Linked DNA regions of Homo sapiens: all the other regions are linked to region 1. The links are contacts of gene promoters, found by promoter capture Hi-C in blood cells and fetal thymus (Javierre and others, 2016). All regions are on one chromosome and are shown on one strand. Each heading gives the region's core, a stretch centred on a gene start or on the middle of the fragment in contact. The rest is flanking DNA. Distances are from core to core; before and after follow the strand shown.

Evidence for each region. Contacts are between HindIII fragments. The CHiCAGO score rates a contact against its expected background, and 5 or more counts as called.
Region 2: a fragment that was not itself captured here is called in contact with the fragment with the promoter of AUH in region 1 in 1 of 17 cell types (naive B cells); the score reaches 5.2 in naive B cells.
Region 3: a contact is called between a fragment that was not itself captured here and the fragment with the promoter of AUH in region 1, in 5 of 17 cell types (activated CD4 T cells, naive B cells, endothelial precursors and 2 more). The highest score is 9.6, in activated CD4 T cells.
Region 4: a fragment that was not itself captured here is called in contact with the fragment with the promoter of AUH in region 1 in 1 of 17 cell types (activated CD4 T cells); the score reaches 6.4 in activated CD4 T cells.
Region 5: a fragment that was not itself captured here is called in contact with the fragment with the promoter of AUH in region 1 in 1 of 17 cell types (endothelial precursors); the score reaches 5.7 in endothelial precursors.
Region 6: a contact is called between a fragment that was not itself captured here and the fragment with the promoter of AUH in region 1, in 2 of 17 cell types (endothelial precursors and activated CD4 T cells). The highest score is 7.0, in endothelial precursors.
Region 7: a contact is called between a fragment that was not itself captured here and the fragment with the promoter of AUH in region 1, in 6 of 17 cell types (activated CD4 T cells, M2 macrophages, total CD8 T cells and 3 more). The highest score is 10.0, in activated CD4 T cells.

What each region holds. Positions count from the first base shown.
Region 1 is chr9:91,360,152-91,363,818 of GRCh38, reverse strand. AUH (AU RNA binding methylglutaconyl-CoA hydratase) reads left to right here and starts at 1,901. Exons shown (of 10, transcript NM_001698.3): 1 at 1,901-2,191. The coding sequence starts at 1,930. RefSeq lists a silencer at 1,731-2,170. The HindIII fragment of the contact is 2,357 bases long and covers 1,191-3,547 here.
Region 2 is chr9:90,888,658-90,892,324 of GRCh38, reverse strand. The region is part of intron 13 of SYK (spleen associated tyrosine kinase); the gene reads right to left. Among named protein-coding and RNA genes, the nearest start is that of SYK, 89 kb to the right of the region's middle. The HindIII fragment of the contact is 3,574 bases long and covers 264-3,667 here.
Region 3 is chr9:90,930,422-90,934,088 of GRCh38, reverse strand. LOC105379829 (a long non-coding RNA gene) reads left to right here. Exons shown (of 4, transcript XR_001746828.2): 3 at 2,033-3,110. LOC105376143 (a long non-coding RNA gene) reads right to left here and starts at 1,138. Exons shown (of 3, transcript XR_001746829.2): 1 at 1,050-1,138; 2 at 816-919. The HindIII fragment of the contact is 3,910 bases long and covers 1-3,622 here.
Region 4 is chr9:90,946,556-90,950,222 of GRCh38, reverse strand. All of the region lies in intron 1 of LOC105379829 (a long non-coding RNA gene), which reads left to right. Among named protein-coding and RNA genes, the nearest start is that of LINC02957, 49 kb to the left of the region's middle. The HindIII fragment of the contact is 4,284 bases long and covers 1-3,667 here.
Region 5 is chr9:90,966,875-90,970,541 of GRCh38, reverse strand. No RefSeq gene overlaps it. Among named protein-coding and RNA genes, the nearest start is that of LINC02957, 28 kb to the left of the region's middle. The HindIII fragment of the contact is 3,335 bases long and covers 59-3,393 here.
Region 6 is chr9:90,988,536-90,992,202 of GRCh38, reverse strand. No RefSeq gene overlaps it. Among named protein-coding and RNA genes, the nearest start is that of LINC02957, 6.7 kb to the left of the region's middle. The HindIII fragment of the contact is 611 bases long and covers 1,386-1,996 here.
Region 7 is chr9:91,007,442-91,011,108 of GRCh38, reverse strand. No RefSeq gene overlaps it. Among named protein-coding and RNA genes, the nearest start is that of LINC02957, 12 kb to the right of the region's middle. The HindIII fragment of the contact is 4,761 bases long and covers 1-3,667 here.

The DNA of each region.
Region 1 (3,667 bases), core at 652-3,151:
GTGACCACCTCACAGTGACAGGGTGACTCCATGGAACTTGTGCCTGCTTGTTCTAAACTCACCAATTAGAACTTCCATGGGAAACTGCTTGGGTAACACGCTGGACCCCAACAGAGGCTTTAGCTCCACAAGTGCCCCTTCCTTGACCCCCTTCCACTGGCTGAACTCCCTGTCACCTCCAGATTTACCCTCCCTCTGGTGACCACAAGACCAAATTAGAAAGAAACCATAACAATAAAAATCACAACACCCAGCAGTCAACATGTACATCATTATCAGAAAAGAGGAAAGATACAAAGGAAGCAAAGTTTTCCTTGTAGTAAACTTCAGGAAAATTTTCCTGCATGGAACTTTACAAAAGATAGAATAAAAAGTGGGCTGTGCATGGTGGCTCACACCTGTAATCCCAGCATTCTGGGAGGTCAAGTTGGGTGGATCACTTGATGTCAGGTGTTCAAGACCAGCCTGGCCAACATAGAAACACCCATCTCTACTAAAAATACAAAAATTACCCAGGTGTGGTGGTGTGTGCCTGTGATCCCAGCTACTCAGGAGGCTGAGGTGGGAGGATCATTTGAGCCTGAGATGCAGAGGTTGCAGCGAGAGGCGATCACACCACTGCACTCCAGCCTGGCCGACAGAGCCAGAACCTGTCAAAAAATAAAAAATAAAAATAAAAATAAAAGTGCCTTCAACATCATTTTACAGCAGATGCAGTAATGGAATTCAGTCTACTTTTTGTTTCTACATTGGATAAAAGTTGAGGACATAATGAAGGATGTTTTGCTTAGGACTAAAAAATACAAGAAATTTCTGTGGCACTAGACGTATGCTCATAGCAGCACACTTTTCAAACAGTATTCTTTTTTTTTTTTTTTTTTTTTTTTGAGACAGAGTTTCACTCTTGTTGCCTGGACTGGAGTGCAATGGTGCAGTCTCAGCTCAGGGCAACCTCCGCCTCCCGGGTTCAAGCAATTCTCCTGTCTCAGCCTCCCGAGTAGCTGGGATTACAGGCGTGTGCCGCCACACCTGGCTAATTTTGTATTTTTAGTAGAGACAGGGTTTCACCACGTTGGCCCGGCTGGTCTCAAACTCCTGACCTCAGGTGATCCACCTGCCTCGGCCTCCCAAAGTGCTTGGATTACAGGCGTGAGCCACCGCCCCCTGCCCAGTATTCTTAAATGCAAGCTTTCCCATTAGAGATCTGATAAAAGCTAGGTAGCATTAATTATACTGCAACGTGCTTTGATGAGTACCTACACACTAAATTGATATCCCGAGTTTCTGGAAGAGCTACATACTCTAAATCCCATCTCAGCGTATGGCTTGTTTGAACCCCTGTAAGACTCTTTCCGTCCAGGAAGGGCCATGGGACATCGGTACGAGTGGGTGGGCTGGAGAAAGAACTCCTTTGCCTGTTTGCTGTTCTCATCCTTTTCCTGAACGCCACGTAGTAAACATCATTTATGCTTATCAGGGACGCTAAACCAACAACCTGAGATCCATAAGTAAGGCAGTGACCAACGATGGGCTGCCACACTTTCAGCCAACTTGAGGAGACAAAACTTTTTTGTTCACTTTTGCAGCTTACTTAACACAGGACCGCAGGGCATGGTCCAGGGAGTACGGGGAGATAATTCCCTCCGGGTGGTTCTTATAGAAAAGTCTTCCCTGAATTATTCCATAACCTTGGAAAACTACTTTCTTTCCTTTTGTATTGGACAAACCATCCAATCTCGCTTGGAGAATGGGGCAAGGCCTCGGGTCACCGGGCTTCGGCGGGGCAGTGAGGGGCGGGAACACGGCTCCGGAGGGCGGGGCCAAGCCGGAGCGAGGCGGCGGGTCCGGACGCCGTGCGCGTGCGCGCGGCAGGTCGGCGCCGGGCGGGGGCGGAGCGGCCGTCGCAGGTCCACGCCGTAAACAGACAACATGGCGGCCGCGGTGGCGGCGGCACCTGGGGCCTTGGGATCCCTGCATGCTGGCGGCGCCCGCCTGGTGGCCGCTTGCAGTGCGTGGCTCTGCCCGGGGTTGAGGCTGCCCGGCTCGTTGGCAGGCCGGCGAGCGGGCCCGGCGATCTGGGCCCAGGGCTGGGTACCTGCGGCCGGGGGTCCCGCCCCGAAAAGGGGCTACAGCTCTGAGATGAAGACGGAGGACGAGCTGCGGGTGCGGCACCTGGAGGAGGAGAACCGAGGTGAGGTGCGAACGCTGGGCAGGCGCGGGGCAGCGGGCGGCCGCTCGCTCTCAGGACGGGCATAAGGTGCAGCGTCCGCCGGCAGGACGCGGGGTCGAGGTCAGGCAGGCGCACCGAACCTGGGTCCCTCCCCTTTCTCACCTCCCTACTCACCCAGCGTGGCCGCTTCCTTGTGCACCTATTTCTTGCTTTTAATAACCTAAACGTGTACCCCCGAGCAGCTTACCTGTAAAGTGACCGCATTCAGCGCGGCAAACAGAAGTGCAGCTTACGCCCTCCGCTCCAGACAAGCCAAGGTCAATATATACCCTGGGGATTTAATCCTTGCTACCAGGCTTTATTGTTGCTGTGTAATGGCTTTCTGTAAACTCAGCTATTAGTGGTGGAGTTGTAAAAGCTGCGGTGAAACTGCCTTTTATTATTACGGAGAATCTTAAATTTGAAGCTGCTCAGCTGGAACAATTTTTCCTCTTGTTCATTTTCTCTTAGAAAGTTAGTCTTGAGGGACTGTTCCACTTCATTTAAACAATTTTGAGCACTTTTTATTTTCCTCAGCTCTGGCGATAAGAATGTGGATGGTATGGATCTTGCCCTTGAGCTACCTTCTACGGGAGGAGACATCATTAGCAATACAATACAGAGCTTTGAAGGCTTTGAAGGAGGCTGACAATCCTAGGGAATACTGTTACAGCTCAGTTCCTTTCACTGGCAGTGCAGGGAAAAGCTAAAAGGGTCGTGAAGGGTGGAATAGCAGTTTCCACCCTTAACCTCCGGGTTAAGCCAGAGGACCAGTGTTTTAATTTTGACATGCATTTGTTGAGCACCTATAATCTGTTAAGCAGAAGTGAAAAGCGTGTAAGTCGTGATTGGTTTTAGTGTAGTGAAGCAGATCCTGGTTATTAGTAGGCTGTGTGAACTTTCAAGGCATGGTAAGAGGAAAGGGCTGTAATACCTGCAGGGTTTCGCCATTTGAAAGGGGTTCCAAGGCATTCTTTAATAGGCAGTGGATTTTGCCATTTGTGAGGGTTCTTGGGCAGACTTATCTCACGTGTAAAACAGGAAAAACAATACCAACTTTATAGGTTTGTTATGAAGATGAGATGAGATTGTTAATGTAAATTGCCACTAGCACGTAGCAGTGCTTCAGGAGTGTGATGAATGACTTTATTCCTTACTTATTATTCCAGACAGAGACAAGAACATGGTCAAAGGCATGGAGATGTGAACATGTGTGGTGTATTTGGGACGTAACATAAGGCAAGTGTGGCATAAGCAGAATAGTAAGAAATTCAGCTGGAAGCATAGACTAGCACTGGAGTGATTAGAGCCTGAATGCCATCATCTTTTGGGTAAGCTTAGTCATGCCGGGACTTCACTTCCGTTAAGTGTACCAACAATATGTTAGATATAAAGGGATTGCAAGTACAGCTACTAATATGCACCATATTCTATTTTTTTGGTCGTTATGACTTGAAT
Region 2 (3,667 bases), core at 801-3,300, 470 kb after region 1:
TGGAGCTGCAATGGGCCTGAGTAAACATATTTAACACAGTATCCCTTATCTTCCACTGGTTTTACACCCTCCTCATATCTCCTAGCGCCTTCTCTAGAAAATTTACTCCTTCTAGCCAGATTTTATTTGTCCTGTCATTTCTCCTTAAATGTATGGTTCTTTGTCTAAAGATTATAAAAGCATGTTGTTTTGGCCACTTCTTTAGACTTCACTGTCTTGTGAGGATCCCCATAAACATGTAAAACTAGTAAAATTGGTAAGCTTTTCTTTTGTTAATCTGGCCTGGTATCAATTTGGTTTCTAGGTCCAGCTGAAGAGTCCATTAAGACTAAAAAGGGGTTGGAGGTAATCTCTGGCTGTCTTACAAGGGTGAGGGATGCTGTCTGCCTTCTCAGGGCTTTGTCATTGAGGCTGGGAAGTCCCTTTGAATTCCCTCCAGGACCACACCCTGGAACTGATGACAATGCCTGCAGTGAGGGACCCCCTGCATCTTCTGGAGGGCCTCAAGCAATAGCCTGGGTTACCAGGACCAGCCCTTGGCGCTTCTGAGTTCTCCTTGTGGCCCTGCTCCAAGGAATCTTTTCCTTTTTTTTCATTCAACTGCACCTCATTGAATTTCTTATGTTTAGACAAAGTGATTCAGAGCTAGAAAGAAATTATTTAGGCAGATAGTGAGGGTAACAGAGTCCTCTGTAAGGTTTCCTTGCAATAAAAAGCAGCTCCTAAATCATGTCTTTTATAACAAAAAGCAGCCTGAAAAATCAAGCTGCAAGCATAGCTAAGCAAGCTAAAAGCTCACATAGGTAAATGCCGGCAGCTGTGTCAATAGAAAAGGGATCCCTGGAGCCAGGGATATTCAACATGGAGGTTCCCTCTTCCACTTTCCTTGTTGCCACGTGTGCAGTAAAAAAGCAGGCAACAAGGCTGAGGCGGGCGGATCATGAGGTCAGGAGATCGAGACCATCCTGACTAACACGGTGAAACCCCGTCTCCACTAAAAAATACAAAAAAATTAGCTGGGCGTGGTGGCGGGCGCCTGTAGTCCCAGCTACTCGGGAGGCTGAGGCAGGAGTATGGTGTGAACCCGGGAGACAGAGCTTGCAGTGAGCCCAGATCGCGCCACTGCACTCCAGCCTGGGCGACAGAGTGAGACTCCGTCTCAAAAAAAAAAAAAAAAAAAAAGCAGGCAACATGGCGTCGGCCAAGGAGAGACCTCATCTGCATAATAAAAGATTAGGGTGGGGCAGCCAGTTTCTTTTCGTGTTATGTAAATGGCCTGGCTGTCCAACCGATCTTTGGGCCCTATGTAATCAGACTCAAGCTCGTCTATAAAACCCTTGCATTTCCACACGGAGCCGGAAGAACCACTTGGGAGCCCTTGTCTCTCTGCAGGAAAGAGAGCTTTTCTCTTTTCTGTTGCCTATTAAACCTCTGCTCTTAAACTCACTTCTTGTGTGTCTGCATCTTTGATTTCCTTGGCGTGAGGCAACGAGCTCAGGTATTACCCCAGACAAACACAGCTGCTTCAAAAGTTTCAGAACATCTCCCCACCTCCCCCAACCCTGTTTGAGGTCACTACTAGAAACACTGTAACCTTCAGAAATATAGCTTTGTTGGGAAATAAATCAAAGTCTGATAAAGAGCTGTGATTTCTAATATGGGGCATGGGCCATTGTCATGATTTCCTTTTGACTGGGGCTTGTGCCCTGGAGCTGACTCCTCCAAGCCTGCAGAACTCACTGAAATGCACCCCTGCAGAGCGGACTGGGGTGGGAACCAAGGGGAAAGACATTGCCTGCCTGTGAACCTCACTCAGGTTCCATCTTAAATCTCCAGGCGGGAAAATACGTTTAGAAAGAATACTCTCTTAAGGAGACTGTTCTACTGCTCTACTTTGCTGTAATTCTGGTGAACATCCAGTGAATATCACGTAGACTGCTTTCCCTCCCCGGTCTGCCCCTGGTGGACCACTCTGGAAATAACTGCCCACTGTTACGTGCGTCCATGGAGGACAGAGGTCGGCCCAGCAGCCCCTATCCTGATTCCTTGAGTCACAAGAATACACCACGAGCCCAAAGGGTATTCAGCAGCCTCACTGCACCCACCTGGGAGCCAAGTGGGAGGTGGTGCCCCTGGCTGCGCACCCTGCTCTCTTCCCACCCACCTTTCACTCCTCACTGTTAAACACACACCACAAAGAAGAATCGACAGAAGTACATAGATCAGCATCAACGTTAAATGCAAAAACTCCCCCACTGCGAGTTCATTTTTAATTCAAAGTTTTTGCATTTGTATCACAATGTTTTAAACTCTACCCTCCTCACCCTTCTACAAGAAGGGAAGCCTTGCAAAGGGAGCTGCAGGCTGGACCAAAGAACACTTTCAGTAAAGGGTCATAGGCTGCCACGTGCCCAAGGGCTGCCCTCCCCAGGGTCCAGTGCTGCCAGTGCCTACCTGCCAATGGTTCTTACGATTCTAGTTTAGGCACTGGGAGAATTAAGCCAAGACTTAGGAATAAACATCCTCTTAGATCCATGAGTAGCACTTCCCTCTTGCTGACACTTAGCTCTCCCTGTTGCACTAACACTTGGGGTTGGAGAAGATGCTCCGGGGCCCAGGCCAGGCTCCTCTCCTGAGCCACGGCAGCAGCAGGGGCAGGGAAGCATATACCCACAGTTTGCCTGCTGCCTTTGTGGCTGCCCCCTGGGTGGTTTCTAGATACAGAATGAGATTATTTCCCTGTCACTCACAATTGTGGTAGAGTGATACTCCCAGGGTGGGGAGGGGAGGTCTCGGAATCCCAGGTGGCATCTGCAGCATTTGGAATAGCCCTCATCTTTCAGAGGCTCTGGCAATGTCAGCTGTATCTGAAGGCAAACCTGATTCCGCAAAGCATCAAATCCATGGCCAGGATTTGTGATGTCCTCCTGATCACAAACCACATCGATTCTCAGCTGTGTGGGCTCTGTGTGCACAGTTCAGTACCAGGGAACTGGAGATGGCGGCTTGGGGTCACCGTGCTATGCACGCACAAGCAGGCTGCTGAGCCTGGCAAAACTGTACTCCTAATTTTCAGTGGCAATGCATTTTCCTTCCTTGCTGAGCTGCCCTGAACATCACCTAAGAATAATGCCAGGTGTACTTTAAAAGCATAACAGCACCTGGGATCCACTAAGCGAGACGTATGACGGCAGTCAGGGTGGACTGAGGCCACCACTTCAAGGATGAGGTAGATTCTAGGGAAGTGCAACCTTAGCCAATGTATCTGTGAGCTGGCCAGAGTCCGAGGTCACCCCTCACTGCTCATGGTAATCAGGGAGTCAGGAAAGTATACCATCCCCTACCGAGTGCTTCTGCCATCCTCTATGCCAAAAATGGCATCCAGCCCCAAACTCTTACAAACACTTTTTTACTTTGACTGCCCTTGCCCCATCTCTCCACCATTATCGACATTTAAATTTGGACACTCGGGTTAGAGTCCCCATCTAAACTTGCTCTTTAGGCTCTACTACATGTAAGTGCATGGGCCAGAAAGCAAGGTCTCTAAAGCAAGACCAGCCCCCACCGTTGTTTGTTTAGAAAGCGGGCACATTCCTGATTCATGAAAAGGTGAACTTTATCCTTTTTTTTAGACGCCCAACCATTTCACCTGTTTCCAGAGCATCTG
Region 3 (3,667 bases), core at 418-2,917, 430 kb after region 1:
GGAAGAGAGGAGTGTTGGCAGTAATCAGGGTGTCAAATATGCCAGGTCTGTCTGCTACATCACACTATAACAGGGGCAGAAATTCAGGTCCTTTTTGGGTTTTGTTTTTGCATACAGTTTTCCCACACCTGAAAAGCAGATGGTATATTACACATACTGTTACGTTTTCTCTTGCCAAGGTGCAGGTGTCCTTTGTGTGTTGTTAAACCCTCACAATATATACTTTATGCAAAGTGTACATCCCAGTCAAGCCCATAGGAAAGGCATTACCCATCGACACTTCTGAAATCTTCTGCCCCTGTGGTTCTAGCAATACAAGAATGACTGCTTGAGAATCTCTAGCCTGGCATCTCCAGGCCCCTGGCTTTCTTCTGTGCTGGAGACAATAGTGCTCCATAGGACACTCCTTTGTGGCTGGCACCCACATCCGCCTCCTGCTGGAGCAATGCTACTGAAGTCTCTAGCTGAGCCCTCCCCAGGGCCTGCCCTCAGCCAGGTTCTACCCCATCCTTGAGCTGCCCCCATCCAATGGCTGGTTTAGGAGGTGCACGAAGGTCTAGCCTGGTGCATTAGGACAAGCCTGAAGTGCCCCCAGCTGAGCCTTTCCTTGGGCCTCCACAGCTCAAATTCTCCTGCTACCCAGTCCTGTCTCCTTACTCCCTATGGGCATTGACCCTCGGGGCACCCCCAGTCTACTGCCTATGCACAAGTCAGAGGCTGTTCCTGGGAACTCTGTTATGACACATCCCTCCTCCCCAAACCCACACCTTGCGTGGATTTGGCCTTCTGGCCAGTGCCCTCTTCCCCAAATGCACCTGTAAGTCCCCATCTTGGTCCCTGTAGCAATCAGTGCTGTGCATTAAGTATGTCCTTCTGGGCTTGTGGGAGGCTTCTGTTCCTGGCCCCTGTGTCTGATAAGCTGGGGAAACATATGACACGTGTCAGTTCCAAGGGAACTGTTGGTTACAGCAGCACCATACTGAACATCTGACTGATAAAGCTCCTTTGGGTTAGAACCTCCCTCTCTGCATTTTTCTGGCCATTTTTACCTTCCAAATTCTGGACAAAATGCAGCCCTCTCTGTAGACCTCCAAATCCAGTAGGGATCCAGTGTTCGTCTTTGTTCTCTTGAAGTCCGTCTTCCCCAGGAGACTGACAATGTCTTCAGGACAGGAAGTGCATCTTAGTGACCCTCCATCCCTCACAAGGCCTTGGTCTGAGTAGAGAGGTAATGCTTGCTGAGAAGACAGGGGACTCATGAGGACCTGAGTGAGGTGCCCAGGATAGATGATGAATAGGCACGTGCGAAATAAGTTTGCCAACAGGAGAGCCATTCCTGACACCGGTGCTAAATGTCACACATCACGTTCCTTTCATCAGCCATAGAGCAAAATCCATGGACTCTCACTTATCCACTGAACACCCCACATTCTTAGACAAAAGAATGATTTAAGTGGGTCTGCAGTATTCTGTAACATATTGTTCTCGGCACCACATGCTTAATACTGATATCAGGTGTTTGCTCCCAGTTACTTCTGCAGGCTCATGTATTGAGCAAACATCAGTATCCTGGGGCCCAAATACTGCTGAAAGCAACTGAAAATATGACAGTGACTACCATTAATATCAGCCCTAATGAACTTTCCATTGTATCCAGAGTACCAATACTGTCATTTCAGCACCTCTGCATGGGTCTTAAAGGGCAGATCTACTATCCCTGCCCTCTGCAGAGGTTCAGGGAGGCTGACTGCCTGTAGGCGAACCACAGCTGGAATGGGGTACCTGCTGGGGGATTCTCACAGAGCAGCGTTCTGCTGTGGGGTAACCGCCGTCTCCTGCCGCTCTTCTGCCTCTGCCATTACTGGTCCTGTTTTCTGACTCACTTACAATATTTCGAGGAGAACCTGAGGGTTTCCCTCTTCATTCTGTTCCTGAATTATTTCCCCCAAATTATTTCAGATTATGTATTTACTTTTAATTATCTTTATATTGATTATTTGTTCTAAAACTCTGTTATGTTGATTTATTTCAGCCTTGGTATTTTGATAACACCACTTAAGCCTCAGCTGTCTGGCCAGTTAAATGAGACAAATCATATGAAGCAAGCACATGCTGATTTGTAGGTCTGCCTTCTCACTGACCTGCTGTGGGGCAAGAATTGGGTTGCAGCCCCTGATCTGCACAGGAGTGCACAAGCAGTCTGCCACCCAGGCAGCTTCTGTGACTTCACAATCAAAGACATTTCTGAGGCTGAAGATTCTTCCTTGACCTCAGCATCCTCCTTCACAGTACCTACTGCAGGGGTGACTACTGCTGAGTACAGGAGCTGGGGGAGATCTCGCAGGCAAAGAAGAGAGACAAGTGCGGTCCCATGAGACCCGGAATGCTTATGGTCTACCCTGCAGTCAATTGACAGCAATTCTTGTTTGGAAATCAATGCATCTGCACTCTGAGTTGCACTGGATCCTGGCGGACCAGAGCTCTGCACGCTTTCTACTCTCCAGCCTGTGTGCAGAAGTTGTAATACTAAAAATGACATTCTCCAAACTCCCTTGCAGCTAGATTCTGGGCCTGATTTTATTTCATTTTGACTAGGTGCACTTACTTGCCATTTACAGGACAGAAGGGAGTGGGGGCTGCGCTTTGCCGTGTCTGCCATTTCCATTGTGAAGCACAGTGGAGAGGTCCTGGTTTTCTGCAGCAGTTTTAGCAAGAGGTCCTGATTTCTGGGCAGTGGCTCTGTGAGTGTCAAGAGCAGGGCTTGGAGCAGCCATTTTGCTCATGAGCAAGTAGCAGACACTCATAGTTCTGGGCCTCTTTTTGGTCCCTAGCTCCTAAGGCGAGGTATTCCTGAAGCATTTGGTTGTGGCTGGTTTTCCAATTTCCTAATCATAATAAAGGTGGGTGATCTGAGAGCCAGAGGAAGCCCAGCATCCTTTCTCCCCACTCCATTGTCTAACTTCTTGCTGGAAGCACCATGGGTGGAGTCATCCGGCATGTCCACTAGGCTGCCTAGAGTAGCTCTTTGCACAATGGAACACAATCTTGAGTGCAGAAATGATGCATCCATCTAGAAGACTCTTCAAAAGAGGTGCATTTCTCATGAGTCAGTAAGTCTCTATGCGCAACAGGTCACAATAAATTGGAAATGCTAGTGTTGGGATGTTCTTTATTATTAATGATAGGAATTTCTTCATTGGCCTTTAAAAAAAACTCCTGGAAGGTGAGTATTAGCTGGAATCGGATTTGCTGTCCTGCCCCTGAAATTCAGCCTTTCTTCCTCCTTTCCCTCCTCCATATTAGATTATTTTCTAACTACAGCACAAAGGCAGCCCATGGATTTAATTACTTGGAACCATATTTCCTTTCATTAAAGGGATTTCCTTTAAGTCCTAAACACGTTTGACATTCAGCCTATCTACTTTAAATAACAAGTGATCTTCTTTGTTCTCCAAGGTTGCTACAATAAACGTGTTATTTTTAGGTTTTAAGTGTCAAAGTTTAACATAATCTCTATTCACCCCCTGCTTCCCAAGAAGGAAATATTTTTGCATATACAATTATATACAAGCATATTCTTCTGTTTTACTTTATCTTTACACAAGTGGGACTTTAGAAAGCTTACTATTCTGTAACTTTTAGCACTTCTTTATCACTTCTGTAACTT
Region 4 (3,667 bases), core at 365-2,864, 410 kb after region 1:
ACAGTTCTGCCAGCATCAGTCCTGAGGCACAGGCTAAATAAGACGCCATGATTTTCCCTGCATGGAGACCAAGTCAGGGAAACGATGTGGCATAACAGCTCAACCAGGCAGGCAGGGATCAGAGACTGTGGTGGGTATCTTATGGTGGCTCCACGAACAACCAACAAGAGGAATAACTCAGCAGCTTGTAGCTGTTTGGAAGCAGCAGTAGCAAACAGTCTGGAACCCTGGCCAGCCACCCCATCTACAGGCACTGAATGTAGAAATGCTTATGAGGGAAAGTGGAGAAGGAAGCGTGCTCCAGAGGGTTACAAAGGAAGTAGCTGCGGGGTGATGGAAGATTTGCAATCCAGATTTTGAATGGTCCAGACACTTTCCTCCCCAGACTGCATGGCCCCCTCGTCTAAGGATGATGCCTTATTTCTGGGCTTTCTCACGTCCTGTTTGTTCAGGTGAATTTCCCAGCAGTTCCTACTGTCTTCTGTGGTTTTCATCTCAAAATACCAAAATACCAAGACAGGGATTTCTAGTAGTGGGGCAGGCTGAGGGGACAATGCAGCAAGGAGATTGCTCTGAGAAGTTCAGGAAAGGTGTTGAGGTCAGAGCCAGCCTTCCAGGAAGGTAACTGGAGTGCCCAGGCCCTGGGCAAGCCCATGGCACCTCAATTCTCCTCCCATTGCACATTTTTTGGAGGAGCTGTGTCCTTTAATGTTAGGTCCCTGGGACCTGAGACTTATTTTGGATCTCCCACCTCTGAGGTTTATGAGCATCACAGTGTTCATAAAAATGCCTAATCTTAGGGAAAACTTTCTAAGCAGTCATGCTGCAAATGGAGAACATGTGCTAAAACTGGTAGAGATTTGATCACTAGTAAGCTGTTGGTCAAATTGACAAACAAGGGAAAACTTTTACAGAGATACAGAAATATTTTCCAAGTTATTTTATTGCTCTATGCATTTCTGAATATATGCATTTGATTATTCCCATGTATCCGTGATGGGCTTATTTTCGTGGCCCTGATGATCCCTGATATTCACCGCCTTGTGCTGTCCTTCCCAGTGACCTTGGCTTTTGACTTGATTTGGCCAGTGGATGTCAGAAAGCATGGCCCAGGCTTGATAAGAGCATGCAGGTTGGGCTTATATTCCTGGGACACCCTCTCTTACAGTGCTGAGCCTCAGGTAAGGAAATTCAGTTACCCATCTGGGAAAATGGCCACATGGAGAGAAAGGATGTCCAGGCAGCTCCCAGCCAAGTGAAGAAGCCATCCTGGATGTTCCAACCACATCAGACACTATTACCCAGCCCAGCTGAGCTCAGCCCAGATTGCCAAGTCATGGGGAATAATCAGTTGTCATTGTTTCAATTCAGTAAATTGTAGGGCTGTTGTTTGCAATAACAATAGATAGCAAAGACAGTGCTACTTACACAAACTGAAGCAACATTACTTATCACAATATACGTATATATAACAAGAAAGAATCAAATGAATCACTGAGGAAGTTTTATAGAAAAATGAGGAGTAGAAGAAATAATAAAGCCCAAAGTAAGTTTGTCTCACAGAAGGGCTTGCAGTTGCATCCTGAATGGTTGCAGTTGCATCCAGGTAGTGCTTAGCTTTGTGTGCCGAAATCAAACCCAGAGACATGATCAGCCATGAGATCCAGCACCTAGAAGGAAATGCAGCAGCGTCTATATGTAGACACTCGTGTCGATGTTGGCATGGAGTGTAAAAAACCAGGCAGAGCCTATTCCCAAAGGCTTCACTGAATGAGGGTTGAGTGTCAATTTTCCTTTTATCTTCTCTTTATGGTGAAATATAAAATACAACCAGAAAAGTACACAGGACCAAGATAATTTATCCACAAAGTAAACCTGCATAACCAGTACTCAGGTCGAAAGGATAACTTTGCCACTCCCAGAGGACCTGCCCCGAAAGGTAACAATTATCCCAACTTTTATAGAAATCATTTCCTTGCTGTCCCTTAGCAACTGAATAGTTGACTTAGTTTTGCTGGGTTTTGATCTTTATCTTAATGAAATTGTGCAGCAAGCGTTCTGGTGTATCTGGCTTGCTATGATGTTTAGCTGTAGATCATTCTTGTGTAGTTCCATACCTAGGAATACATCTTTATTATTGATTTGCATTTGGATCATTTTCAATTAGGGGCTGTAGAAAGCACTGCTGCCACAAGAATTGTATTTACCTCTTGGTGTACTTGTCCATGCAATGCTGTTCGGAACCGACATACCCAGAGGTAAATGTGCTGGGTCCTCCATTCTTCATGACCTTGGTTTTAATAATTTACACCAAGCAGTCTTTCCAAGTGGTTGTACTGACTTAAACCCTTTCCAGGGTGGTAGGGCTCTATAACTTTACACCTCAACCAAAGCCTTGGTGCTGCCAGGCTTTTTTGTGTTGGCCATTCTGATGCATGGGGCATGGTGATTTTCATTTAATTTTCCTTGATTACCTATTCATATCTTTATTGGTCATTTGAAGTCTCTTGTTTCATTTTCTACATGGTTGTCATTATCTTAATAATTTGCAGAAATCTTCTTCAAGTTAAACACACTACAAATATCTCCTCCCACTTTGCTGCTTACGTTTTTCTTTCTTCCTGGTGTCTTCAATGACTAGGGGGTCTTAGAATTATTGTAGAATAATTTATCAAGTTTTTCCTTGTATGGGTCATGCATTTTACTGCTTGTTTAATTAGTCTTTCTCTAGCCAATGTTCAAGAAGATATTCTTTTACATTTTTATTCAAAAGATGTGTTCTGACTTTCATATTTAGACCTGCAAATGTGTGTGTGTGGTATAAGGTAGCAATTTTCTCTTATTTCCATATGGATCTGAAGCAAAGCCACTACCACTTATTGAGAAGATTTTTCTTTCACGACTGCATGGCCATCTGCCTTGGACATAAATAAAGTATCCCTCTCTACCACACTTCTCCTTGGCTTCATGCTCTGTTCCCTCCTTGACTTGGGAGACTGTTCTCTGAGCCTGTTGAACCTGTTGCCCTGCTTCTCAAATGCCCTCTTAAAACTGTAAAATGCCCCCAGGGAAAAGCAGCCCCAATGCTGAGCTCACCTGTTGGGATCTCCATCTTTACACAATCCTGGCTTTACTTTATTCTCTATTTTTAGTTTTCTGATGCCCTTAGACTGATGATTTGATATTTTATTCTGCTTTCATAGTGTCCTCAGCAAGAATTTTGCTTCAAATAACCGAATTCATCATTACCAGAAGCAGAAGTATGGTGAGACAGTTTTTATTTTTTATTTTTATTTTTTTTAGAAAAAAGGTCTCTGTCACCCAGGCTGGAATGCAGTGGTGTGATCATAGCTCACTGCAGCCTGGAACTCCTGGGATCCTCCCATTTCAGCCTCCTGCGTAGCTGGAACTACAGGTGCATCCCACCATGCCTGGATAATTTTTTAATTTTTTTTTTGTAGAGATAGGGTCTCGCTATGTTTTCCAGGCTAGTCTTGAACTCCTGGCCTCCAGCAAGAGTGATTCAGTTTTAAATAAAATTTTCAATATCTTTGGACATGATAGGAGAAATTGTGAGACAATACAGGCCAATGGGAAGACTTTGAAATTGAGCCTAGGTTAGCATCAGTGTGGGAAGGAATCCAGGATGTTTAAGACTGAGAGGGAA
Region 5 (3,667 bases), core at 477-2,976, 390 kb after region 1:
CTTGTAAGGATTTGTGAGTCAGCTATAAAATTTCACTGAAGATTGTTTTGCCCAAGCTTGATTTCCTTCATGCCCATAAGCTCTTAGACACCACTTTCTGTTTTTCTATTTTCAGACTGAATTGAACAAAAATATTTAACTTTTACTCAGTGCTAAGTCTTTGCTTTCACTTTAAAATACATGATCTTTTCCAAACCATACACATATATTTTAATGGGTTGTTACTAGTTCATACTTGATCCATATTTTGTAGCTGAAAAAGTCCAAAGGCTGGAAGGTTTGGTTTCCAGAGCCCTGGACATCCTTGGAGGCAAATGCAAGCCCACTGTAATGAAGCAAGAAGGGAGTCTGGCTGTACTGGGTGCAGCCTGGTGCTGAGGCCTGGCCCTTTGATTTCTATGTGTGGGAATGCTCAAGTTGTAACTACTCTAAGTGGAAATTAGGAAAATGGGGACCCTGGGGGGATGGTGATCCAAGTTGCCAATTGTCCTTTAGGACTGTCATTGTTTTTTCTCACATTCTTGTCTTAGATTCTGCAGATGTGGTGATGTGGCGGGAGTAGTTAATAGCAGTAGTCATGGTATTTAACATCTGTGAAATCATACACACTTGGTAACCTTATGTTGATTCCACACCACACCATCTAATCACCATTTTCTCTTTCCTTTTTTCCTTCTCTCTTTCTCCCTCCCTCCTTTTTTCCTTTTCTTCTTCTATTCCCTGTTTTTTAAAGGCAATGTTGACATCATGATGGTCAGTAAAAAACAAACATTTACTCCAGCTTAAACAGCCCACCAAATAAGAATCCTTGAGTTCTGATTAAGTTCTGTATCTTACTCATTTACAAAATAAGAATGACAAAACTCCTCTCGGGGGTGTTATGGGCATTAGACAGATATTAGGGATGATGGTTAATTACAAGCAAGGCTGCTCCTATGGCCAGGAATAAAAACGCTTGTACCTACTTAACAGGCTGGCATGATTCATGTCTGGTGAGTTCACCCTTTGATTCAGGTGCCAGGTGTGATCAGCTCTTTCATATACATTATCCAATTAGTGGGATGAGCCTCTCGGCTGGCAAGTTCTGCTGGCTGCTCACTGCAGGCTCTTCAGGGTTGTCATGGAGACCATTGGAGCAGATGCCTTAAGCTGGCTGAGGTGTTTCTGAAAGATGGGAATCCCGGCTGGGGGACCCCAGATTCTAAACGAGGGCCATGTGACCTGAAGAAGATAACCCCCAAATCCCAGACTCCTACAAAGCCAGAGTGTCTAGCCAACATCGCAATAGTCAAGCATGCCACCACATGGCTCACAGGGAGAAGGCGTTCTGAACTCCCCCGGCTCATCTCTGGGTGTCTAACTGCACGCGGAAGCCAGGTGCTGGCTGCTGTGTTCCCAAGAGGCTCAGCCTAAGCTAGGAAGGCCAAAGTCAACTGAGGTAGGGCTTGGTGGGAAGTCTGTACCCTCTTTGGGGCAGCATTGGAAGAATGAATTGACTCAGACTTTCCAGTTGCACCTCAAGCCAATGTGGTGGGTGAGGCTGGCCCTAGAGGTGGACCCAGTAAGCACTGGAGAGTCAGCACAGGAGGCTTCTGGAGGTCCCCAGGGTCTCCTTTGCCACAATTGACACAAATCTGTTGATCAGACTGGCAAACCAGGCTCTTATAGAGTATGTCCTTCCTGGTAATGGTAATGGTTAGGACCCTTTTTTGAGTTTCTATTAAGTGCCAGGCACTGTGCTTCACCTACATTCTTTCACTTTACCCGCACGTTAACCCTAGGCAGCAAGTAATAGGGTATCTAATTTTTAGGTGAAGAAACTGAGGCCCCCACATAGCTATTGGCAGAGCTGGGATTTGAACCCAGTTGTATCTGGCTCTAAAGACTAACAGACTGTTACAGAGAACCAATGACCAAGAAACAGTGGACATTCAGTCCACAGCATTTGTTTCTTACAATCTTGCTCATTTAGAGACATCACTTATGCAAAGGGTAGAGAAAAAAAGATAACATTGTGGGTGGCACCAGCCAGTTAGTGTGGTTGCTGTGGCAACTTGTATCCCTGGTCCATAACAAGTGCTACCCCATAGCAATTCCCATGATCTCTGCTTCTTCATGGGAAACCAAGAAGATAAATGTATTAGTGCAGGACAGAGATAGCCAACTGTTCCCAACATCCATTCATCTTTTCTTCCTTTTAGGAATAGAAACCCTCAGAATTTTAATTGCATGCCTAGACTTTCATCTAGAGACTGCATTTCCTAGACTCCTTTGCTGCTAGACATGTCCATGTGACCAAGTTTGGGCCAATGAGATGAGAAAAGAAGCGATGTGTGCCTTAGGAAAAAAGGGAAATGTCCACTACTTCCTCCCCCTGACCCCTCAATCTAGGAAATTGGAGTAGTTGCCTGGAACCCAGAAATAGAAGCCATGTGTTGAAAGTGGCAGAGTAGTCACACTGGCCCAGGCTGTTTGCCTTTGTCGTCTTGTATTTGAGGGAAATAAATGTATTTCTGCCACTGTATTTTCAGGCCTTTGTTATAGCCATGCAGCCTATATCCCAACTCATGTAGTCCAATGGTGAAAGGTGACCTAAAATGGATCATTACTATAAGAGAATTCCCATTGTTTCCCTGCCTCCCCACTCAATGTTAAAACACTGAATATCTTTCAATGTCTGACTCCATGTGAGGGGCCTTTCTTTACAAAGCCCAGTTAATCAGGGCCAGGTGGATTCACTAAATGCATCCACGAAAGAGCAGATTAAGGAGATTGCAGAAGCAATGCAGGGTATGGCACTGACTTCTCTGTTAACAAGCCAGGGTGCTTGTTTGACTCTCATTTAAAAGATAAAGCCCAATCTTCATTTTTATCTTAAATAATCACTGGGAAGAAATTGTATGCATCTAGGACATACCTGGAATAAATAATAAATGGGCTTTCTTCATTTGATCTAGAGAACACAGAAGGCAGAAAGAAAAAAAAAACACGTGAAGAGAAACATAAAGCAACTTTTCTTTGAAATGTAAATGGAAGTGTGTGTGGCCTGGTAGAAGCAGCTCTGGGCGGGGGCGGGGGGTCTGGAAACCCAGGTTCCAACTCCTACTCAGAGCCTCACAATGTGTAAAAGGAGAAAGGGAGGGTCCTAAGTCCCTTCCCACGTCACCATGGTCAGATTCTGGGGAAGCTCGCATTTTCCAAAGCTGACGTCAACATCTCCCATCTCACGAGCTCTTCTACAATATGGGCCTTCCCTTCCCTTCCCACAAGAGTAGGGGAGACTAAAGCCCTTCCCTTAGATCTGGCCTAGCTGTCATGACACATGGCTCCCCAGGTCAAAGGAGGCCATGTAGCTTTTACGTGGGGACCTGGAAATCATAGTCTTCAGAAGCTTTCTGTCTGGGTCATGCTGTGAGAAGCTGGAGGCATGGGAAAGGCTGCATGCAGGTTCTCTGGTGCATGGTCCCAAGGAGCCCAGCCTCATGCAGGAGAGCAGCTTCTAGATGATTCCAGCCCCAGGCATTGGAGTCTTACCAGCTGAGGCCCAAGCATCATGGAGAAGAGGTCACGTCCCCCATAACCACTCCCAATGCCATCTCTGCCCCACAGAATCTGTGAGCGTGGGCTATTTTGTACCACTAAGTTTGTGCCCGTTATCCCGCAGTAA
Region 6 (3,667 bases), core at 442-2,941, 370 kb after region 1:
CTAGGCTGAGATTGATTTTCCTTCTGGGACTCTGGAATTTTGGTATGTGCTAAGCAGACAGTGGTTGTGTGAACAGCCCTCAATAAAAACCCTGGTCTGTCTCTCTGGTAGATGATATTTTACAGGAGTTGTCACAACTAGATGCTGGAGAAATTAGTCCAGGCTCTGTGACTCTGCAGGGAGAGGACTCTAGGAAGCTGTGCCTAGTTTCCTCCAGACTTTGTCCTATTGACCTTTTTTCTTTGCTGATTTTGCTTTTTTATCCTTTTGAGGTAATACATTATAACAGTGAGTACAACTGTATGCTGAGTCCTCCTAGATAATCACTGAGGTGGGGAGTGGTCTTGGGGACCCCCAGTACAACAGTAGAAGCAGCTTCTTCCCCCTGCCTGAGGTTATCCCCCCTTTACTGAAGACTTATGATGAGCTTTTCTGACCTAGTGACCCTATAGGCACTGCTGATCCTCCTCTGGACCTAGAGACCTATCGTGAGGCTCAAGTCCCAGTAGATCCTAAGGTGAAGTACAAGTTGTGACCCACAGAGAGGTGTGATGGACACCAAAAGAACTATGTGATGTTTCTAGCTTATAGTGACAGAAACCTGGGGAATATGTGTGGGAATGGATCTTAAGGGTGTGGCATCAAAGTGGAAGGAATATAAAGTTGTATCAGTCTGAAATTACTGATACAGGCTCACTGAGAGTATGGACTCAGTGTTTTAAAGTGATGGGTTAGAAAGGACTCTAATAGTTTGATTGGTTGACTGAGATATGTGTGTTAAAGACTCTGCCAGTGAAGTCTCAGAAAAAAGTGAGGAGCATTATAGAAAAAGCTGAATCACTTTAAACAGATTGCTAGTAGAAATCTGGACTTTAAGGATACTACTGACATGGGCCAAGAAGGAAGTGAGAAACACGTTATTGGAAACCTGAAGAAAAGAGATCCTTGTTATATAATTGCAGAAAGTTTAGTGAAATTGTGTCCAGTTGTTACATAAAAAGCAGAACTCATAAGTAATAAACTGGAATATATAGCTAAGGAAATTTCCAGGCAAAGTGTTGAAGGTGCTGCTTGTTTTTTTCTTGCTTTTTATGTTAAAATGTAATAGAAGAGAGACATATTGAAGGAAGACTTATTGAAGGGACAACGACTTGATAATTTCAAAAGTTTAGCCTCTCCAGGTGGCAAAAAATACCCCTAGAAGTCAGAGATGGATGCCAAAATTATGACATAGAGAAAAGGCTGAATATGTGTTTGTGCAGCTCTTTGCTGAAACCCTGGAAAGCTCAGAGGTCTTGTGTATTCAGCCACATAATGACTCTTCCAAGGGATTAAGAGTGTTCCATGTAGATCTTCTAATCAAACCAGAGAGCCTCTGGGAAGCTTAAAAACACTGGTGTTCAGCACTCCAAGCAGAAGCCAAAGATAGAGAAGAGATTATTAGAGAAAGATTTGTGTGTATAGCTTTTGTCTAATGCAGAGAAACCCAGTGAAAATACACACAAGGCCCACACACTTTAGAAAAAAACATTGTATTAGTGGAAATATTTTAGCAAAACAGATTAGCAGAAAATAAAGATGCCAACTAGGACTAAATGGAATATAGATATTACAAAATGGCAAAAGCAGACTGATAAAATTCCCCAGCTGCAAACACCTGTCACCTTTTGTGAAAAACGGAGCATGACTCTAAGAGCTAAAGCAGGAGCCCAGAAGTTGAAGATGAAAGCCCAGAGCAGCTGAGAGACACAGGTTACCTGGCTTTGAGACCTGGTGGATTTTGCCCAGCTGGGTTTCAAAACAGATTGAAACAAATGACTCCTTTTTACCTTCCATTTCCCCAATTTTGGACTTGAGTTCTATAACTGTTATTCTTTCCACCATTGTGTGTTGGGAGTATTGGAGAAAGATACCTTGTGTCTTTTATTTCACAGGTGTGTAGGTGGAGACAAATTGTGCCCCTGGAGCTGTACTTAATGGGTGACACTCAGAAGCTTTATCTACACCTGATTCAGATAAGTAGATAATGAGTTTTGGGCTTTTGAGCTGGTGAGATTCTGGACTTTATCTAGTGTGATAATGGGATGAGACTGTTGGAAACCTTGGGGAGCAGGTAAATGTTTTCTGCAAGTGAGAGTGAATTATGGGGCCAGAGTTTGTACTCTGGTGGACAGAACTGTAGGTGGCCCTAATGATCTCTGCCCCCATTGCAGCATCCATGATTAGGTTAAGTGATATAGCAAAGAAATCCTGCCTATGTGGTTACGGTCACTAATGAGTTGATGTTAAAATAAAAATATAATCTGGGTGGGCCTAACCTAACCATATGAGCCCTTTAAATATAGAGTTTTACATAGATGGACCTGGAATCATTATCATAAGTGAAATAACTCAGAAACGGAAAGTTAAATACTGCATGTTCTCACTTGTAAGTGGGAACTACACACTGGGTATGCATGGACATATAAAGTGGAATAGCAGATGTTAGAGACTCCAAAAGATGAGGAGATGGGAATGGGGTGAAGGTTAAAAAACTACCTATTTGGTACAATGTTCACTATTTGAGTGACGTGTACGCAAAAGTCCAGATTTCACCATGATGAAATATATCCACATACATGTAACAATACTGCACTTGTACCTCCTAAATCTATTTTTTTAAAGTGGAGTTTTATCTGATTGGTAGAAGAAGAGGAAGTCAGAGAGATTCCAAGTATGAGAAGTATTTGATGAACAATTACTGGCTTTGAAGATAGAGGAGGCCATGGAGCAAAGAATGCAAATGGCCTTAGGAGCTGAGAATGGCCCTTGACTGACAGCTAACAAAGAAATGGAGAAGTCAGTCAAGCAATAGCAAAAAATGGAATTCTCCCATCAACCTGAACAAGCTTAAAAGCAGACTCTTCCTCAGAACCTTGGTTAGAGCCCAGCCCAGCCAAAATTTCAGCCCTGAAAGACCCTAAGTAGAGACCCCAGTTGAGCCCACTTGGACTTCTGACCTACAGAACTGTGAGATAATGAATGGAAGTTGTTTGAAGCCATTAAGTTTATGGTAATTTGTTACACAACAATAGCCAACTAATAGACTCCATAATCCCAACAAACAACCTTAACTTCCATAAACAACTATTTATTGAACACTTACTGTACTTAAGGTATATGAAAGGGACATAAAGAGATAGCAACTATAAAAATGTAATTAGCTAATATTTATGGAGCAGTTCTACAATGTGCCATATAGTCTCCTGATTATGTGTGAATTATCTCATTTAATCTCCACAATCTGTGAAGGATGTAGTAGTTTATTACTAACAAAGGAGTAGAAACATGAAGGGTACGTAGATTGTCTAAGGTTTATTTATAAAACACGACAGACAGTAAGCACAACCAGTATAATTTCCGTATTTTCTGGGGTAGTGCTGATTTAAAATATTCGGTCTTCTTGCCTCCTGATTGCATTTATAATTGTCAAACCACATTCCTGGGTCTGTGGTTCAGAAAATATGGTCATCCTGCTTATAAAATAAAGACATATGTACCATAGGAGCCCTGACTCTCAAGGCAGCCATCTGTGTCCAGTGCAATGGGTCAAACATAGAGTGTTTCTTTAGTAAACACCACAAACTTGCTGTCTGCATGCTTCCTTAGAGGACACAGCGACTAATTG
Region 7 (3,667 bases), core at 491-2,990, 350 kb after region 1:
AATATTAAACAACTGAAATGTGGAACATGACTGCAATGCCCCAATCGCCATTATTAAACAACATTATTTTTGAGAGTCTAGCTAATGTAATAAAATATAAAACAAGTAAGTCATACCAAGGTTAGGATAGAAAGATCAAAATTAACTTTATTTGTAGGCAATAGGATTACAGGCTTGGAAAATACAATAGGCCAGATTTTAAAAACTGTTGCATTCAAAAGATATTTTGTACACAAAATAAAACATAAAATTAATACCTTTAAAGATAACATCAATAGATAGAAATTAAATGAAAAACTGCCAATGTATAATAACAATAAAAGCTATCAAGTAAATGAAAATGAATTTAACGAGACACATTTAGACATAAAGGAAGGCTGTTCCTCAGTTTTAAGGAGGATGGAACCGTAGAGATGCAGGCCTTCAGAACAGGGTTTCTGATGGCTCTGCCTCCACTCCCAGAGAGTCTCTCAGTGGTGCCTCTTCTGTGCCAGACCCTTCTGCATAGGCGGGCAGATGCCATAGCACCCCCAGGCCTCACACCCACTCAGGGCCCCTTCTCTGAGGAAGAGAGATGATAGCATGTCACGTGGACCCAGAAGAGCAAGGGAGAACCTTCCCCAAATCCCCCAGCACAGCACTCCTCACATCTTTTCCACCAGAATTGGTTCACGTGCCAATTTTTGAGCCAGTCTCTGGAAAGAGCTATGAGCTTAGACAACCTAATGTAATCTCTGGATTAGGATTATCTTTCTCTGAAGAATATGGCAGAGAGTTTATGTTCTGAACAAGTTTGAGATTTCGTTAGTAAGGAGGAGGTGGAAATGAATTAATTCTAAGTAAACAACAATCAGTCACTTGAAAGAAAACAAAGATAGACTCCTACCTTGTTCCGTGCACAAAAAGTCCAAGTTTAAATAATGTATTAGTTCATTTTTGCACGGCTGTAAAGAAATACCCCGAGACTGGGTAATTTATAAAGAAAAGAGATTTAATTGGCTCACAGTTCTGCAGGCTGCACAAGAAGCATGGTCGGGGAGGCCTCAGGAAACTTACAATCATGGCGGAAGGCAAAGGGAGAGTAGGCATGTCTTACACGACAGGAGCAGGAGCAAGAGAGAGAGCAGGGAGGTGCCACACACTTTTAAACAACCAGATCTCATGAGAACTCTATCATGAGACAGCACCAAGGGGATGATGCTTAACCGTGAGAAACCATCCCTGTGATCCAATTACCTCCCACCAGGCCCCACTGCCAAACATTGGGTATTACAATTGAAAATGAGATTTGGGTGGGGACACAGATCCAAACCATATCAAATAACTAAGTGTAAAACAAACCCATACAAGTATTAGAAGAAAATATAGAAGAATGTTGCCTAATCTTGGGGTGAAAAAGGCCTTGTCAAGCAACAAACAAAACTCAAAGGACATACAGGCAGACAGAGGCTGGTTTCACGATGGAAGTTAATCATTTCTATATGGCAAAAAAACAGAGAGAGTCAAATAGCAAGTGACAGGGTAAAACATTTGAACTATATGTGGAGAAAGGTTTAATATCTCTCATATACAAAGAACTTCTTCAGAAAAGGAAAAATAAAGGTCCAGTTGAAAAGTATCAAAGGATATGAACAGGCAAGAGAAAATGCAAAAAGTAAGAGAAAATTAAAACTCTCGACCTCATTAGTATGAGGACAATTAAAATTAAAACAACAAAATGCCAAATTTACTATCAAATTTTAACAAATTAGAGAAAGTTTATAGGATCCAATATTGGAAAGGATTTAGAGAAACTGTACTCCCTGATTTTACAGATGGGAGTGTGCATTGCCCCAAATGTTAGAGGAAGTAATCTGACAGTATCTGTTAACTCTATGATGGAGAAATCCCACTTTTAGCAATATGTTTTACAAAAATTAAAAAAATAGAAATATGCCCAAAGATATTCTCGTGCATTTATTGTAACAGAAAAACACAGAACACAATCTGAATATCTATCCATGGTGGAATTGCTGTAAAAACAATGCAGCATACATACTGTGCACTAGCATTGATATTAAAGGCGTGGGTTAAACCCTGAGTAAGAAGGCATAAGAAGGCAGCAGTGGTGGCATAATTGTGAATGTTCTGGAAACCCTCAACAAATCCAACCAGAGCAATTGAAATAATAAAAACTCATTATCTATGAATAACATAACAAAATGAGTTGATAAGGTGTCTCCCAAACCACAAATAAAAGCGGGTGGAGTCAGACCACAGATGGCAACAAGGCCTATGTGATACAGGCTGCTGGGCAGGAGGTGGTGAGGGAGGACAGGACACTCTATGAATGCTCCACACCAGCCAGCCAAAGTTGACCTCCTGACAAACCTCCACAGTGAAGAGGACCCTGCCACTTTGCTCTCGAAAGTCTCCTGTCTCTCTCAATCATCACTCGTTTATTTAAAAAAAATGTTGTTTGTATTTTTGTTGATATATCATGGCTATACATATTTTGGGGCTACATGTGATATTTTGATACCTGTATCCATTATGTAATGATCAAATCACGGTAACTGCAATATCCACCATCTCAAGACTATATTTTCTTTGTGTTGGGAACATTACAATTCTTCTCTTCTAGCCATTTTGAAATATGCAATAAATTATTGTTAACTATAATTTCTCTGCTGTTCTATAGAATACTAGAAGTTATTCCTTCTAACGATATTCTTGTACACATGAATCAACTTTTCTTCATCCCTTCACCTTCCTTCCCTTCCCTGTAAAAAGTATTTTTGCATCTATATATATGAGAGGAATTTGCCTGTTCTTTTCCTTTCTTACAATGATGTTGCTTGGTTTTGGTGTCAAGGTCATGCAGGCTTCAGAAAACAGGTTCCTGGGGGTTTCATTGATTTCTGTTCTCTGGAGGAGTTTGTGTAAGATTTGCATTAGTTTTTCACTGGGCAGCCATTTGGGTCCGGAGTTTTCTCTAAGAGAAGGTTTTAATTTATGGTGTTAATTTCTTCAATATTAAAGGATTATCCTTGTTTATTATTTCTTCTGGAGTCAGCTTTGGTGAGTTGGAGTTTCCTAGGAATTTGTTTACTTTTCTCTTAAAAATTTAAGTTTATTGGTTTATTGTAATTATCATCTTACTATCACATTCCTATCTCCAGAAGCTATAGTGATGTGCCCCCCTCCTGACCTCCATTTCTGATTCTTGGGATTTGTGTCCTCTTTTTTACATTGATAAGTCTTAGCAGGAGTTTGACAAGTTGCTTCTTTCAAAGAAAGAACTTTCGCTTTATTGAGCCTTTGTATTAGATGTCTATTTTCTATTACATAAATTTCTGTCCTCTCATTTTATTCTCTTTCTCCAACTTTGCCTTTTTTTAAAAAAAAATTAATTTGGTAATCTCATTCTAATTTCTTTAGATGGATACTTAGACCACTTGGTATTTAGTTATTTATGTTCCTTCATGTATCTGTTTAAGTTTTAAAATTTCCCTCTAAGCACCGTGTTAGCTGCATCTCACAAGTGTTTAGATTTTTGTTATCAAGTTCAAAATAATTCCTAATTTCCATTGTAATGTCTTCATTGATCCTTGAGTGCTTTAGAAATTTATCCCTTACCTTCCAAACATATGGGAATTTTCTAATTAGCGTTTCATTATTATTTTCC